3 separate regions of the Homo sapiens genome follow, and all the other regions are linked to region 2. The links are contacts of gene promoters, found by promoter capture Hi-C in blood cells and fetal thymus (Javierre and others, 2016). All regions are on one chromosome and are shown on one strand. The core of a region is centred on a gene start or on the middle of the fragment in contact, and the rest is flanking DNA. Distances in the headings are between cores, read along the strand shown. Region 1 has its middle 14 kb from the start of LINC02106. Region 2 holds the start of ITGA1 (integrin subunit alpha 1). Region 3 has its middle 5.0 kb from the start of LINC01033.

The links. Contacts are between HindIII fragments. The CHiCAGO score rates a contact against its expected background, and 5 or more counts as called.
Region 1: a contact is called between a fragment that was not itself captured here and the fragment with the promoter of ITGA1 in region 2, in 1 of 17 cell types (M0 macrophages). The highest score is 6.0, in M0 macrophages.
Region 3: a fragment that was not itself captured here is called in contact with the fragment with the promoter of ITGA1 in region 2 in 2 of 17 cell types (total B cells and total CD8 T cells); the score reaches 5.5 in total B cells.

Annotation. Positions count from the first base shown.
Region 1 is chr5:50,953,979-50,958,727 of GRCh38, forward strand. No RefSeq gene overlaps it. Among named protein-coding and RNA genes, the nearest start is that of LINC02106, 14 kb to the right of the region's middle. The HindIII fragment of the contact is 3,894 bases long and covers 1,421-4,749 here.
Region 2 is chr5:52,786,336-52,790,652 of GRCh38, forward strand. ITGA1 (integrin subunit alpha 1) reads left to right here and starts at 1,581. Exons shown (of 29, transcript NM_181501.2): 1 at 1,581-2,079. The coding sequence starts at 2,019. It overlaps PELO (pelota mRNA surveillance and ribosome rescue factor), which reads left to right and starts at 1,581. Exons shown (of 3, transcript NM_015946.5): 1 at 1,581-2,079. All of the region lies in intron 1 of PELO-AS1 (PELO antisense RNA 1), which reads right to left. RefSeq lists an enhancer at 1,269-1,548. The HindIII fragment of the contact is 1,585 bases long and covers 1,222-2,806 here.
Region 3 is chr5:54,313,638-54,318,280 of GRCh38, forward strand. No RefSeq gene overlaps it. Among named protein-coding and RNA genes, the nearest start is that of LINC01033, 5.0 kb to the right of the region's middle. RefSeq lists a cis regulatory region at 1-44. The HindIII fragment of the contact is 4,389 bases long and covers 1-3,548 here.

The sequences.
Region 1 (4,749 bases), core at 2,118-4,617, 1.8 Mb before region 2:
CATGTACCCCTGAACTTAAAAGTTTGAAGAAAAATAAAAAAGAATGCTTCATCCAGGTGAAGTTTTCCAAAAACAACAACAACAACAAAAGAATGCTTTTGGAGTTCCTGGAGCAGGTGGCACGAATTCAATCAACTGATACCCTCCAGTGTCAAGTCTCACAGAGAGACAACAGTTCTCTACCTCAGTGCAGAAAGAAAGAGTGAGGCCCTCCAGGGCTACCAGTTACAATAATATTATGTTCTTTTTTACTACCTTGTACGTGGTGCCAGGGCCATATCCCGCAAATTCAAAATTCAGCTCCTGTAGTACAATCCATATGGGTAATCATAATGGTTGCTGACCTATGTGATTCCAGGAGTGGGTCTAAATCTTGAGACTGTAAACCAAAAACAAAATGCTAAGGCCCCCCAGCCGTCTGAATGGACTTCCTCCTCAGCCGAGGCACTCTTAAAATTTAACCTGAAAGACTGGAAGACTGGTTGAGGCCATGATGGGGCCGTGGGTGTCGGATATGCCTCATTATACCTCTCTGGCATTAGCATCAACACAGCCCTTAACTCTGATAAGAAGAATTTGAAGCATTTACAATCGATTCTCTCTGAAGCCTGCTGCTTGAAGGCTTCCTCTGCATGATAAGAATTTTGATCTTCACAATCCTTTAACCCAGACACTTCCTTTCAATTGATCCCAGGTCTTCAGATAAACTCAACCCAGAATTAATTAATTAATTAATTAATTAATTAATTAATTTTGAGATGGCATCTCGCTCTGTTGCCAGGCTGGAGTGCCGTGACGTGATCTCGTCTCACTGCAACCTCCGCCTCCCGGTTTCAAGCGATTCTCCTGCCTCAGCCTCCTGAGTAGCTGGGACTACAGACACGCCACCACACCCACCTAATTTTTGTATTTTTAGTAGCAACGGGGTTTCACTCTCCATCTCTTGACCTCGTGATCCACCCACCTCGGCCTCCCAAAGTGCTGGGATTACAGGCGTGAGCTAACGCGCCTGGCCCAGAAAAATTTTAAATTCACCTATAACCTGGAAGCCACCTCCCCCACCACCCATCCCCCTCCTGTCCCCTGCCCCGCTTCAAGTTGTTCCACCTTTCTGAACAGAACCAACATATTTCTTAAATGTATGTGATTGAAGTCACATGCCTCCCTAAAATGTATTAAACCAAGCTGCACCCTGACCACCTTGGGCACATGTTCTTAGGACCTCCTGAGGGCTGTGTCACAGGCCATGGTCACTCATATTTGGCTCAGAATAAATCTCTCCAAATATTAAAAAAAGAAAAAAAGACTGTGTTAAATCTATTGACGAAAGCCTCTTTCCAGTGTTTCTAAAGGAGGAGTAAGCTGTTGATCCACTGGCCGGTAGAGAGCATTCAGAGATGAGGCTGTTCTACCAGGGCCAAGCTTGGTGTTGTCTGCCTAGTGAGCATGAACAGGATAGGGCAACAGCCAGAGAATTAACCAATCTCATCTTCACCAAAATGGCTGGGTTTTTCTATGTGCATGTTCAAGTGTAGAGAATTGCTTTTCTATTTTCCATGCAGTTTGGAATGTATGACGTGTGTTTGTAACAAGGAAGCCAGATACAAGGTTAGATCATGAAAAGACAGTGAGGTGGAATCCAAGAAGGCTCCTCTTGATCTGCAGCGAAGAGTGACATGTTGTGATACTCTTCATAGCACAGGAAAAACATCACAGCAACATTTCTGAGTGAATGGGGTCTATGAAGAACAATTTCAGGCACTAGATATCATTTCTGATTTTGAGGCTCGTACAGTCCTATTCTTTGCAGGTAAGTGCAGTGGAATGATTTAATCTTATCCCTGACATGTACTAACTCTGGGACTCTGGGCAAGTTCACATAGCTCACTCTCAGTTTCTTTTTCTCACTTCAGATAATGGGGATAAAAATGCCCATCTTAAACTGCCATTATGAGGATTAAATGCATATTTTCCCTCCCTCTTGCTTCCTGGAATTCCTGTCTTTTTACCTCTGCCCCTAATGATGAACAGTCTGCCGGTGCTGAAGGATGTCACTTCCTCCTGGAAACCATATGACATGCCATCAAAGACTGGGTCAACTCTCTCTCCTATGTACTTCCAAATAGAGCTCTGTGCTTACCCCTGTCATAACTCTTAACATCCAGCAATTCATTTCATGAATTCTAGTAGAAAAATGAGTGTGTTCCAGGCACTGTCCTAGGGTCTGGAAACAAAGCAACGAATAAAATTGGAGAGGTCTCCACCCTTGTGTTTTGAACTCTCTAGTAGGCAAAAGAGACAATTAATAAGCAAGCAAATAAGATGAATGTAATTCCACAGAGTGATAGGCCCATAAGGAATTAAAGAACGTGGTAGGAATGAGAGTGACTCTTGAGGAGAGCCTGGTTTTAAAAGGTCGATGAGTCTCAAAATAAATATATTAAAAAGGCCGATGGGAAAATTCCAGTCAAGGACATGACATTTGAGCTGAAATCTGGATATTGAGAAGTAGCTACGTATATAATCTAAATACCAGGCACCTTTATAAGCACTCCCAGTGTATTAATTCATTTTATCTGCACAACAACATATTGAAGTAAATGCTCTTCTTATTCCTAATTCACAGATGAGACAACAAAGGTCCAAGGGTGAAGTAACTTGCACAAGATTACAGGGCTAGCAAGTAGCAGAATTTGTATTCAACCCAAATAGGCTGTCTTCAAAGTCCATATTTCCAAGCACTGTGTTGTAACTGCCTCTCAAAAGCATTTGATATTGCATCAACCTTGACTTTTTACTTGTATGTTTCTCCTACTGGACAGTAAATTAGTTTATGGTTAGTACTCAGTCCCAAGAATGCCCAGCTCTTAGTGTGTGTGTGTGTGCGTGTGTGTATATATATATATATTTATTTATTTTTTCCTTTTGGTCTGAGAAAGGGTCTTGCTCTGTTGCCCAGGCTGGAATACAATGGCGCAACCATAGCTCACTGCAGCCTCAACCTCCCAGGCTCAAACAATCCTCTCACCTCAGCCTCTCTAGTAGCTGGGACCAAAAGCAAACAACATCACACCTCGCTAATTTTTAAGTTTTTTGTAAACATAAGATCTCCCTGTGTTGCCCAAGCTGGTCTCAAACTCCTGGGCTCAAGCGATTGCTCCTGCCTCAGCCTCCCAAAGTGCTGGGTTTACAGTTTTGAGCCACCTTAGTACAATCTTAATAAGTATTTATCAAATTAATTCATGATTTTAATGAGCAAATATATATGACATGAAGGATCTCACTTAGTGCTTAGCATCAGATAAGTGATTAACATGTTAATTCTTCCTCCCTCCCTCCCTTCCTAATTCCCTGAGTTAGATTCATATATCCTGCTGCTGCACTAAAAGTACCTGGAAGATTTATAGAGGAAGGGTGGGGGGCTGTCTTCATAACATATCAAAGAAGAAATTAGAAGAAGTTTTTCAGTTTGTTAGCAAAAGATGGAAAAGTAACTTCAGTGAGCTCTGAAGAAAAACATGTGCAAGCAAGGAGCTTGTAAAGTAATAAATTTCTGCCCTCCAGCACTAAAATGATGTCCTCTGTGCTTTAAGGAAAAGCAATTTGGAAAATTTCCACACATACACGTTTTGGGGAAAATGTAGGGAGAAATATAAAGTTAGTTAAATGTCTTTCATAGGCACTTCAAAGCCATGAACCATTAAATCATTTCCACAGCTTTTTGACTGTTATCAACCCCACCCCCAGAACATTGCCAAAATCACCCCTTTAAAGGTTGCAATAAATTTGAAAGCCAAATCAGATTTGGGAATGTTGCACAAAAGAGAACTATATCTTGTACTTTAGATACATTTTTTTTTTTAATATCAGCACAGAGCTACATCCTGCCAAAGATGAACTTGGAAGCAGTGACCTTTGCGGATGACTTCTCTTTGTTAGATTTTTGCCCTACAGGATTTTAGAAGCCTGGTCACAAGAACATTTGAGGATACCAGGTGGTTTTGAAATGCATGGTTGAGCTGGATGACTTATCTTGGCCTGAATGTAAATTTGGAAAAGGAGTTCTGTCATGAAGAAAGCGAATATTTGTACAAGAAGCATCAGCCGCAGTGTTCTCAAAAGTAACTGTAACCTTCCCGCTGCTGCTGCTGAGTTTGATGGAGAAAGATGGTGAGCTTAAGAAGAAAGCAAGAGATCATTCTCTGCATTTTTTTTACCCAGTGCTGTGTTGAATTTCTTTCTAGTTACAATTGTAAAGTGTCACAAACAAAAGTCATTTAGCCTATGCAACTTCTGCCATTAAGGTGTTGTCTCTAGAAAATGAACTACAATGTTAGCAGATGCTCCAGCAATGTTAGGGAGAGACCTCCCTGCTAAATGAATTACTGAGATGGGCACACTTATAAGAAAAAGGTAACATTTTATGCACTTAAACACCTAGCATTCACATAAAGGATTGAGGAACAGCATGTATTTAGTCTGTATTGTGAACCCAGTTTATAACTCCAAAGCTAGAGAACTGAGCCTGCTCAGTAATAAAGGAGCACAAAGGGAGTAAAGAAACAGCAAGGAAGCAACATTTACTGCAGCCCAACTCTCCTGACAGTGAGTGTGGCAGAAAGATGAGAGCAACCAAGCAACCAAGATACAAGCAACCAAGATACAAGCAACCAAGATAGCAAAGCGGAGGTTGGGCAGCTGGAAGCATGGAGTACAAATAAATGCTATTAATTCATTAGTGGACTGCAG
Region 2 (4,317 bases), core at 331-2,830:
TATATGTACACATACATACATACACATGATTGTGTATATATAGACACACTATTATATGTTTTTGAAAACTAAGCAATTTGGAGAAATATCATTGGGAAAGTACTTACTATGATTTTTAAATGTCTACGAATTAATCAATATCTATTGGTTACTGTTCAAAGCACAGAGAGTCATACTGAGAGGCATAAGACATAACTGATACTACCAACAGGGAAACGAGATATACACAGGAAATGAATTCCTTGGCAGGGTATGAGAGCATTGAACACAAACAAAGGAACTTAAGTAAAGTCCAATGGGATTGAACTGTGACCCAACATAATACAATTTTTCTAGAGACTCATTTGTGTAAATTTGAAGACAGAACTGAGAAATGACATTATAAAAACTAAAAACGGGAGAACGAGATTTTTAATGTATTTACTAAATAGTGAATCAGTTCAGATACATAATAGAAAAGGAATTTCTTGATTAATGGGTCAACATACTGAGATCTGATGGCCTTCAACCTCCTTGGGTCTGCCCACCCCATTTTTGACGCTCCTTAAACTTCTTCAACTTTTGTCTTCTCCAGCTTTTAGTTGCTGTGATCCTCTATCTGGCAATGTATCCAGTGAACCCTGTGGGCTTCTTCCTTCCTGTCCCTCGTGTTACCTGTTCTGTGCTACCTGTGTTGCGTTCTGCTCAACGAACCCTCCTTTGGGTGGCACTCTTGTCCTGCCTAGCCCTAGTTCTGCTAGAGATGCTCAATTAGTTGTTGAGTTGAAGAATTGAATTGAACTGTTTCCCTCAGATTCCTCTAAACACAAATCCACTTATTCTTTCTGTCTTTGAAATTCTCAAAACCGCTAAGACACAGCTATTTTGAAAATAGCCAGCATTGGTTGAAGCTAGGGTGAATATGGCTTTTGACTCAGAGAGGTTGTTCAACTCACCAGGAAAGGGAAGCATTGCAAGTTCCTAAGCACTTCTGGACTCTTAATGCATTTTCACTCGTGAAAGTTTCAAGCAAGAAAAAAATAAAGTAGTGCCCCGAGTTCTTTATTAGATTCAATTACCAGCGTACAAACATCCTAATTCACTTAAACAAAATAGCCCACACACATTCCATTTCCAAGGAGGCTGCTTTTCTTCCTCTCTTCCCTTCTCGCTCTCCCTCTTACTGTTTTTCCTCCGTCTTGCTTCTCCTTTTCTCCCCTTATCCTAGTTATCTCAAAGAAAAGCTTATCTGCAACCACCCTTTAACCACGAATTACCATAAACGAAGCAACCCCCCCACCCCCCCATAAGCGAAAGCAAAGCCCTCAGTGGAGCCTGTCGGGGTGGTGGGGACGCCCCCTTTCGTGCAAAACGACTTCACGGTGAATTTCAAGTGTCCGCAGGGGATGGAAGGGGGGATTCCAGATCCTCGCATTTTCACAGACGGCCTAATCCCTCTGCGCAATGGACCCGGGAAAGCTGCCTCCCGTTAAGGGCGCCCAGGCACTGTCAAAGCGCCCTCCCTGCCCGGGCCGGGAGAAGTAAGGGGTGTGAAGGCGGAGCCACTGGGCTGGCAACACCCTCCCGAAGGTCCAGCCCTTACCCGCCTTCCTACCACCTTAGGGGATTTGGCCCGGAGAACGAGATCACCCTCTCAATGAAAGGCAGATGTCCCTTTAAGGTTTGCTTCTACAGCCCGTGGACTTTAGCCTAAACACGGACCCGCGAAGCTGGCTTTATTTGTCCATGTCTCGGACAGAGCCTGGGAAGCTGCCAGTGAGATTTCAGAGACCAAGAGCGCGAAGGGGCGGGCGATGTGGCAATCCGTCTGGGATGTGAAAAGCGTGGAGCGCATTTAGAGGAATTCGACGAAAACACAGGAAATCACTCCTCTCCCGCTCCTGGGCGCCGCTGCCACTGGGGCAGAGGACTGGGAACCGCGGCAGCGGGATAAGTGGCCCAGCCAGAGAGCGCAGCTCCCGCGCCCGGTCCTGCCCTGCGAACCAGCGCGGCCCCCTGGCGCTGAGGCTGCTCCGGCCATGGCCCCTCGGCCCCGCGCCCGCCCAGGGGTCGCTGTCGCCTGCTGCTGGCTCCTCACTGGTGAGCGACTCGCTTTTCTCTGAGCATCTCCTGCTCGCGGGCTTGGGGCTTGGAGCGGGGAGGGAGGTCCTCAGAGCCATGGGCCAGATAGGAAGAGAGAGCGCCCATCCACTTTCGGGCATTCCAGGTACTCAGGCCAGGCTACGGGGCAGGCAGGAGTTTCGCGTTCTGGTTTTGATATGAATTAGTTTTCGTGTCTCTCCAAAGTCCTTCACCCTAGGAGTAGGAGTGAGGCAGCACTGAAAACCTTAGAAGGTAGAATTCACTTTTAAAATTAAAGTTGTTTTTACAATACACATTGTATATTAGGACTTTGCTGAATATTTCCTCCCCTCCACCCTTTTTTATGGCATGGGATGGGAGGGTGATGCTTATAGGGCGCCTGATACATATGCAAAATTCCTACCCTCGGGTTGTTCCAGAGTGGACATTATTGAATTTTCTTGCTGTCTACTATTTAGGCTTTTTTCCCATGCAGAACAAGAAAAGGCAGGGATGCAAGACGAAACTGCCACTTGTTCCAAAATGATGTTTCTATGTCAGCACCCAAGAGGAGGGATATTTTGAAACGTAGAAAGGAATGGTGAACATTTTCTCTGTAAATATCACAGGGCAGTCTACTTTTAAGATGCAAAATATAGTATTGTTATTTGTACATAAATGTGTATTTTTAAGGAGGGGACTTAAAAACATAGTGGAAATGCAAAGTTGTATCCAATTTAGAAAAAGCTTGAAATATAGCATTTTGTAAGATTTTCCCAATAATGAACTCATGGTCAGATCTTTTTTACCAGTTACTGATTGGGGTGGGGGAAAGTTGAAATGGTGAAAAATGGAAGAAGGTGGGGGGAAAGTGTATCGATAGAATCTCTGTGTGAAAGAAAATCACCTTATTAATGGGTTAATTAACAGCTGGCTTTAACATATCATTGATATTCAATTGTTCAGTGTTTTTACTGCTGGCATGGTTATTAGTACTAGTTAATTTAGCATTTTTACCACTAAAAACAGGGTAGAGCCAGCTAGTTTAGACCTGCCTTAGATGGCCAAGCATTGTTAAGTTTTATGAAGATGATTTAGAAGTTGATTATCAGCAAGCAGAGCTTTTTTCAGAAGGGAGGTAATGTAAAGAGAGTTAATAATTAGCTACTGGCTTTTCATCCAAACATTTCCCACTACTCAGGAAATGTCCAATAATCCAAACAGTGGTAACTGCTGAACAGCATTATAGCCGGTGAGTGGTTTAACTTACCAGCTACTGCCACTACTTTTTACACATATTTGACCTATGATTCTTCTCCAACTCAAATTTTTTTAGATTGTATTTTGTTGTTTTTGTGCAAAATCTGAATACAGTAGTTTACTATCCAAGTTGTACTTTTTCATTCTACCAAATAAGCAGTCTCTAGAGTAGAAATGATGAAATGAGGTTTGCGTATCCTCTAAAAAGACAAGAGTGAAACTTGAAGTAACAGAGAAGTTTAACAAGTTACAATTTCATATATATGTTGGTGAAATATACATTGGTGAATCCAGGAAGAGACTTAAAATATTTAGAAACCTTGTGTGCACTATATTTATGCCCATTTCGCAACACATGAGGGATCTGAAATTGGACTGCTTTCCCATCAGTCATTATATTCTGTAGGCTCTTCTTTAGCAATCTCTTTCAGATTTGGAAACTTCTCATCAATTCAGAGTCCGTTTGTAACCTGGGGACTCATCACCATACTTATCCATGCACACTACTGTAGAGCTTATCTTTCTGTCTTCAATTTGAACCCAACTTCCAGTCTACCCTCCTAATACATCATTTTTACTATATCTGTTTTTAGTCAAAAATCTTTGGTGGTTCTTTGTTGCCTTTAAGATAAAATCCAAAATTCTCAACTGACTGCCCTAATCCAACACCCTCTCTCTATCTCCTACTACTCCTATGTCAGTTTCTTATTGCTGTTGTAACAACTTGCCATAGATCACCAGCTTAAAACAACATAAATTTACTATTGTACAGTTCTGTAGGTCAGAAGTATCACTGGGCTAGAATCAAGATGTCACCAGGGCTGCATTTCTTCTGGAGGTTCTAGGGGAAAATCAGTTTCCCTGTTTTCACCAGCCTCTGGCCACCACCTGCATTCTTGGCCTGTGGCCCCTTTCTCCATCTTCAACCGAGCAGGGTAGAATCTTCAGATCTTCCCCCATGACTCTGCTTTATCATCACATCTCCTTCTCAGACTC
Region 3 (4,643 bases), core at 104-2,603, 1.5 Mb after region 2:
GAATTTCCCTGCACAAGCTCTCATTCTCTCTTGCCTGCCGCCATGTAAGACATGTCTTTGCTCCTGCTTCACCTTCTGCCATGATCATGAGGCATCCCCAGCCATGTGGAACTGTAAGTCCATTAAACCTCTTTCTTTTCTAAATTGCCCAGGTTCAGGTATGTCTTTATCAACAGCGTGAAAACAGACTAATACAGAGGCCATCACTGTTGCTTGTCAAAAGCAAAGAGAAATTATTTTGACAGTCCATACTCTAAAATTCCATAAAGGCTGCTGGCTAGCCAAATTTGGAGGAAAATTTTTTGTTAAACTGTCACTTGCAAGGAATGAAAACAGAAATGCATTTTTGCAACTTGGTCTCCCAACTTTCCAGAAAAATCAACATATTAGTGGTTATTTCCAGCTATTCTTTTGTTGTTTCCAAGGAGAATACTGCCTTCACTAGTTTTGTATCATGCATACACTATCTCACTGAAACTTTTCATAAATCTTTAATGGATACATAAAACTATTGTAAAAATGTACTACTGTGTTAACAAATCCTTTATTAGTTACTACTATTATAAATATTACAGTGAATGTTTGCTTATAAAACTATCCACATCTTATTATCCTAAGAATAATTTCTAGTAATAGAATTACTGGTACAAAGAGTATGAGCACTTCTTTTCTTTTTTTTTTTTTTTTTTTGAGATGGAGTCTCGCTCTGTTGCCAGGCTGGAGTGCAGTGGCACAATCTTGGCTCACTGCAACTTCCGCCTCCCGGGTTCAAGTGATTCTCCTCCCTCAGCCTCCTGAGTAGCTGGGACTACAGGCACACGTGACCACACCCAGCTAATTTTGTATCTTTTTTTAGTAGAGACGGGGTTTCACCATGTTGGCCAGGATGGTCTTGATCTCCTGACCTCGTGATCCGCCTGCCTCAGCCTCCCAAAGTGCTGGGATTACAGGCGTGAGCTATCACGCCCAGCTGAGCACTTTTAATACTCAGTTTTGACCTAGCTTATGTAGTCTTCTTCCTTCTACCCCCCAGCTCCAAAGTAGGGAATGATTATCTTGTCTCATCTTTGCCTTAATATTATTCCTTAATAGCTGAAAGATGGTATCTTTCATTATAATGACTCTTAAATCATGGACACTTCTTTTTCAGAAAAAGTGGTCAGCTCTGCAGAGGTCATCAGGCACTTTTTCTCACTTACCACATCCAATAACTCCTGTGACTTTAAAATTCTCTTCTGAGTCCTTTTTCCCTTTCTCTCCAGTGGATACCTTGACACCCACCTCTGATTTACCCCAGTCCTCTTCTCTGCTTCCTAAACCTAAATGAAGTATCACTGTGTCCCAGAAGATGAACTTCATCAGAACAGGGTGTCCCCACATGAAGCCGCTAACAGAGCTTGATTCATAAATGGAATCAAGCCAATGATTATTGAATGAGGTCAGAGGTTGGAATTAGAGTAGGGTTTTCTGCTCTTAGCATGGTGACCTACTTGCAACTCAAACTAGAGGAACCCCTCACTGAAATAGCTAAGTCTGAAGTTTTTAATCTAAAATATCTCCATGTCAGTTTAAACCTGTTTTCTCTCCTGCAGGTAGATCTTAAGGCCTTGTATGTCTATTTTTCAAAGATCAGTCCTGGCAGTCAAGATGAAGATTTGTAACTACTTAACTAGATGAGCTTGGACAGGTCACCTGTTCCTTCCAGGCTCCTGTTTACTCAGCCAGGGGATAGAGTTCAACTAATCCCTACCATGATTAAGGGTCACTCACCTTTTCCAAAAAGGGCTTTGCTGGGTCTTGGGGTTTTAAAGCAAGATAAGACATCCACTGAAAATGGTAAATATACGAGGGAAAGATAACTAGATCTCACAAGCAACCACCATTCAAGCACCAAATATCAAGAAGCTGTGTAAATCCCTCTCAATACCAACCCCAGCAAGTTCATTTAATCTCTTAGATACATTTCTACATTGCTGATTGTATTAATTTCCTATTCTGCAAGCCAGTTATGAGCCTTATGGAACTAAAATAAAGGTGTTGGAAGAGCTAAAAGAGTTAATAGATAGATGGAGGCCATTAGTGAATCACACTCATTGCAATTGGGCAGCAAGTCCTTTCTTGAATTGTGAATCTCCTTTTCTGCCACACACGTGTGTCTGAATCTCCCTCAACAGCCTGGCTTGACACCTTGCATGTAGCCCTGGCACCACTAAAGATTGATTGGTTGCTTAGAGCATAGACCTCACTATTTACAGCCAGCCTCATTGTGTCAATATGTCACTGCCTGAGCATACTTGTTAGTACTTCCTGACACAGTCAGCTCCAAGTGAAGGAGAAAAATCAACAAATCCATTAGGCCTCATGATCACCATGCTGAAATCTCACAGCAAAAATCACAGATAAAATACCCTTCCCAAGATCACACATTAAGTAACAGAGCTAAGGACTTTCCTTCCATAACCCTGGAATATCTATTTCTTCCCTATACTACTATGGAAGTGACAAGATCTTGGGATCAGTGTGACAAGAAAATAAAGCAGGCCTAGAGTCTACCACGGAGAAACTTCCGCTTATTAGAAATAACAGGACAAAGAAAGGCGAATAGACAAAGCCCTTCCCGATACAAATGTGCACACAGTCAACCTGGTGCCAGAGGAGTTACTAAAGTGTTTAAGGGATGAGAACTCAGTGAGGGTTTGCCAAAGTTTCTGGAGTTCTAATAGAACTCTCCAAGAAAGAAAAAATTTATCTTGGAGGATTTGTGAGGGGAACTTTCCAGATGGGAAAACAGCATATAAAGAATCAATAGCAACAAATTGGGGATGAGGCATTACATACTTAAAAGAAGATGAGTGTTTGAGCCCAAGGTATAGGAGGTATAGACAGTTTAGTTTGGGGAAGTCTAACTGGTGCAAATCAGGGTTCAGCTAGGAGCTTCTCTGCAGATTATTGCTTCCCAACTCCCCATGTGGTGTTGGTGGAAGTTGATTTGCAGCTCCATCCAGTGTAATTGCTCCCTCATTCTGGTCCCTAAGACTGGCATAAAGATGTGCCAACTACAGAGGGAAGCAAATCCCAAAAAAGTGTTTGGGCACTTGCTTTCTTGCCTGCTTCTTATGAGATCATCACCTATTGGGATAATATAGAAACTATTCAAATTGCTTTCTTGTAGGTATTCCACTGAAAGTTGGAAACATCTTGAATGCCCGTGATTTATAATTTTGATCTCTTCTTTCAAGGCTTACATATAAGGAAGCCTTAATCCAAGCTGGCAATTGATTCAAGGCAGCTTGCAAGGAAACGAGAAACTCAGAAACAAGAAACTATAAAATAAAGCCAATGAAAAAAGTGGCTATCATATACCATCTAGATAATAATGCTTCCTATCTCATCCAGACTTGAGATTCTGACTCTATGCTGTTTAAATTGAGAAAGACAGGCATGTAGGTACTCTGGGCAGGCTAATATGGATTCATGCATTCTACATACCTATTTAACACCTACTATATATTAGGGATGCTAGAGAAATATTATCCCTGCTCACATAAAGCTTAGTCTCTAGTGATTGGAGACAGGAAAGATATCAACTAGTGATAAGTGCTATACAGAATTAAAGAGATGTGCTGGCGAGTAACAGGGAAGCATACTCTAGACAGGTAGTCGTGGATGGCATCTCTGGGTTGTGCTAAGTGATACAGTCCAATAAAACTTTCTGTAATGATGGAAATGGCCTATACTTGTACTGCCCAGTATGGTAGCCATTAGCTACACATGGCTATTGAGAACTAGAAATGCAGGTAGTGGATACTGTATTGAACAATGAAGGTATGCAGTAAAAATATGAATGGAGGTCTTCCACTTAAACATGACATATTAAATATACTTGCTTATCTCCCCCACCCTCACCCCCACAGGCCAGTAAAGGAATAAAAAAGATCCACCAAGACAGAGAATTAAAGGAGAGACTCCAGCATATAAGAGGTCAACCATTTAGGAAAACAGAAAGTGGATACAGAAGTGGCAACTGACGTAGCGGAACAGAGAAAGCTGAAGGCTAAGTTCAAGAGGCGGGGGAAGCCAGCAAGAAACAAGCTGATTCCTGTTGCAGAACTCTCATCAGCTCAGCAATAAGCACCACCTGGTTCTCTGAGGTGGGAAATTAAATAAACAGCTATTTAAAAGCCATCATGTGGAAGCACCGTGCCAGACAAGTTTACCAAGTTCTACCAAACATTCCCTAAACAAAATGTCCCAACTTGAAACTATTCCAGGGTAGAGAAGGAGGGAGTGCTTGCCAGGTCATCTCAAACAACTATAATAATCTTGATACCTGATCAAGGACATCAATAATTATATATCAGTCTCACTCACAAACACAGATGGAAAAATATTGCAAAACATCCAAGAAAAGTAGAAAAAAAAAAAAAACCACATTGTGACTAAGCCAGGCTTATCCTAGGAATGCCAGATGTTCTTAACATTGGAAAATCAGTTAACTCTCCACATTATCAGATTAAGGAAGAAAAATCAGGATCACCTCAACATATACAAAAAAGAAACCATTAGAAATTAAATATCTATTGGTATTTGTTTTTTAGAGCTGCCGTAACAAAATACCATCCACTGGGTGGTTTAAACAACAG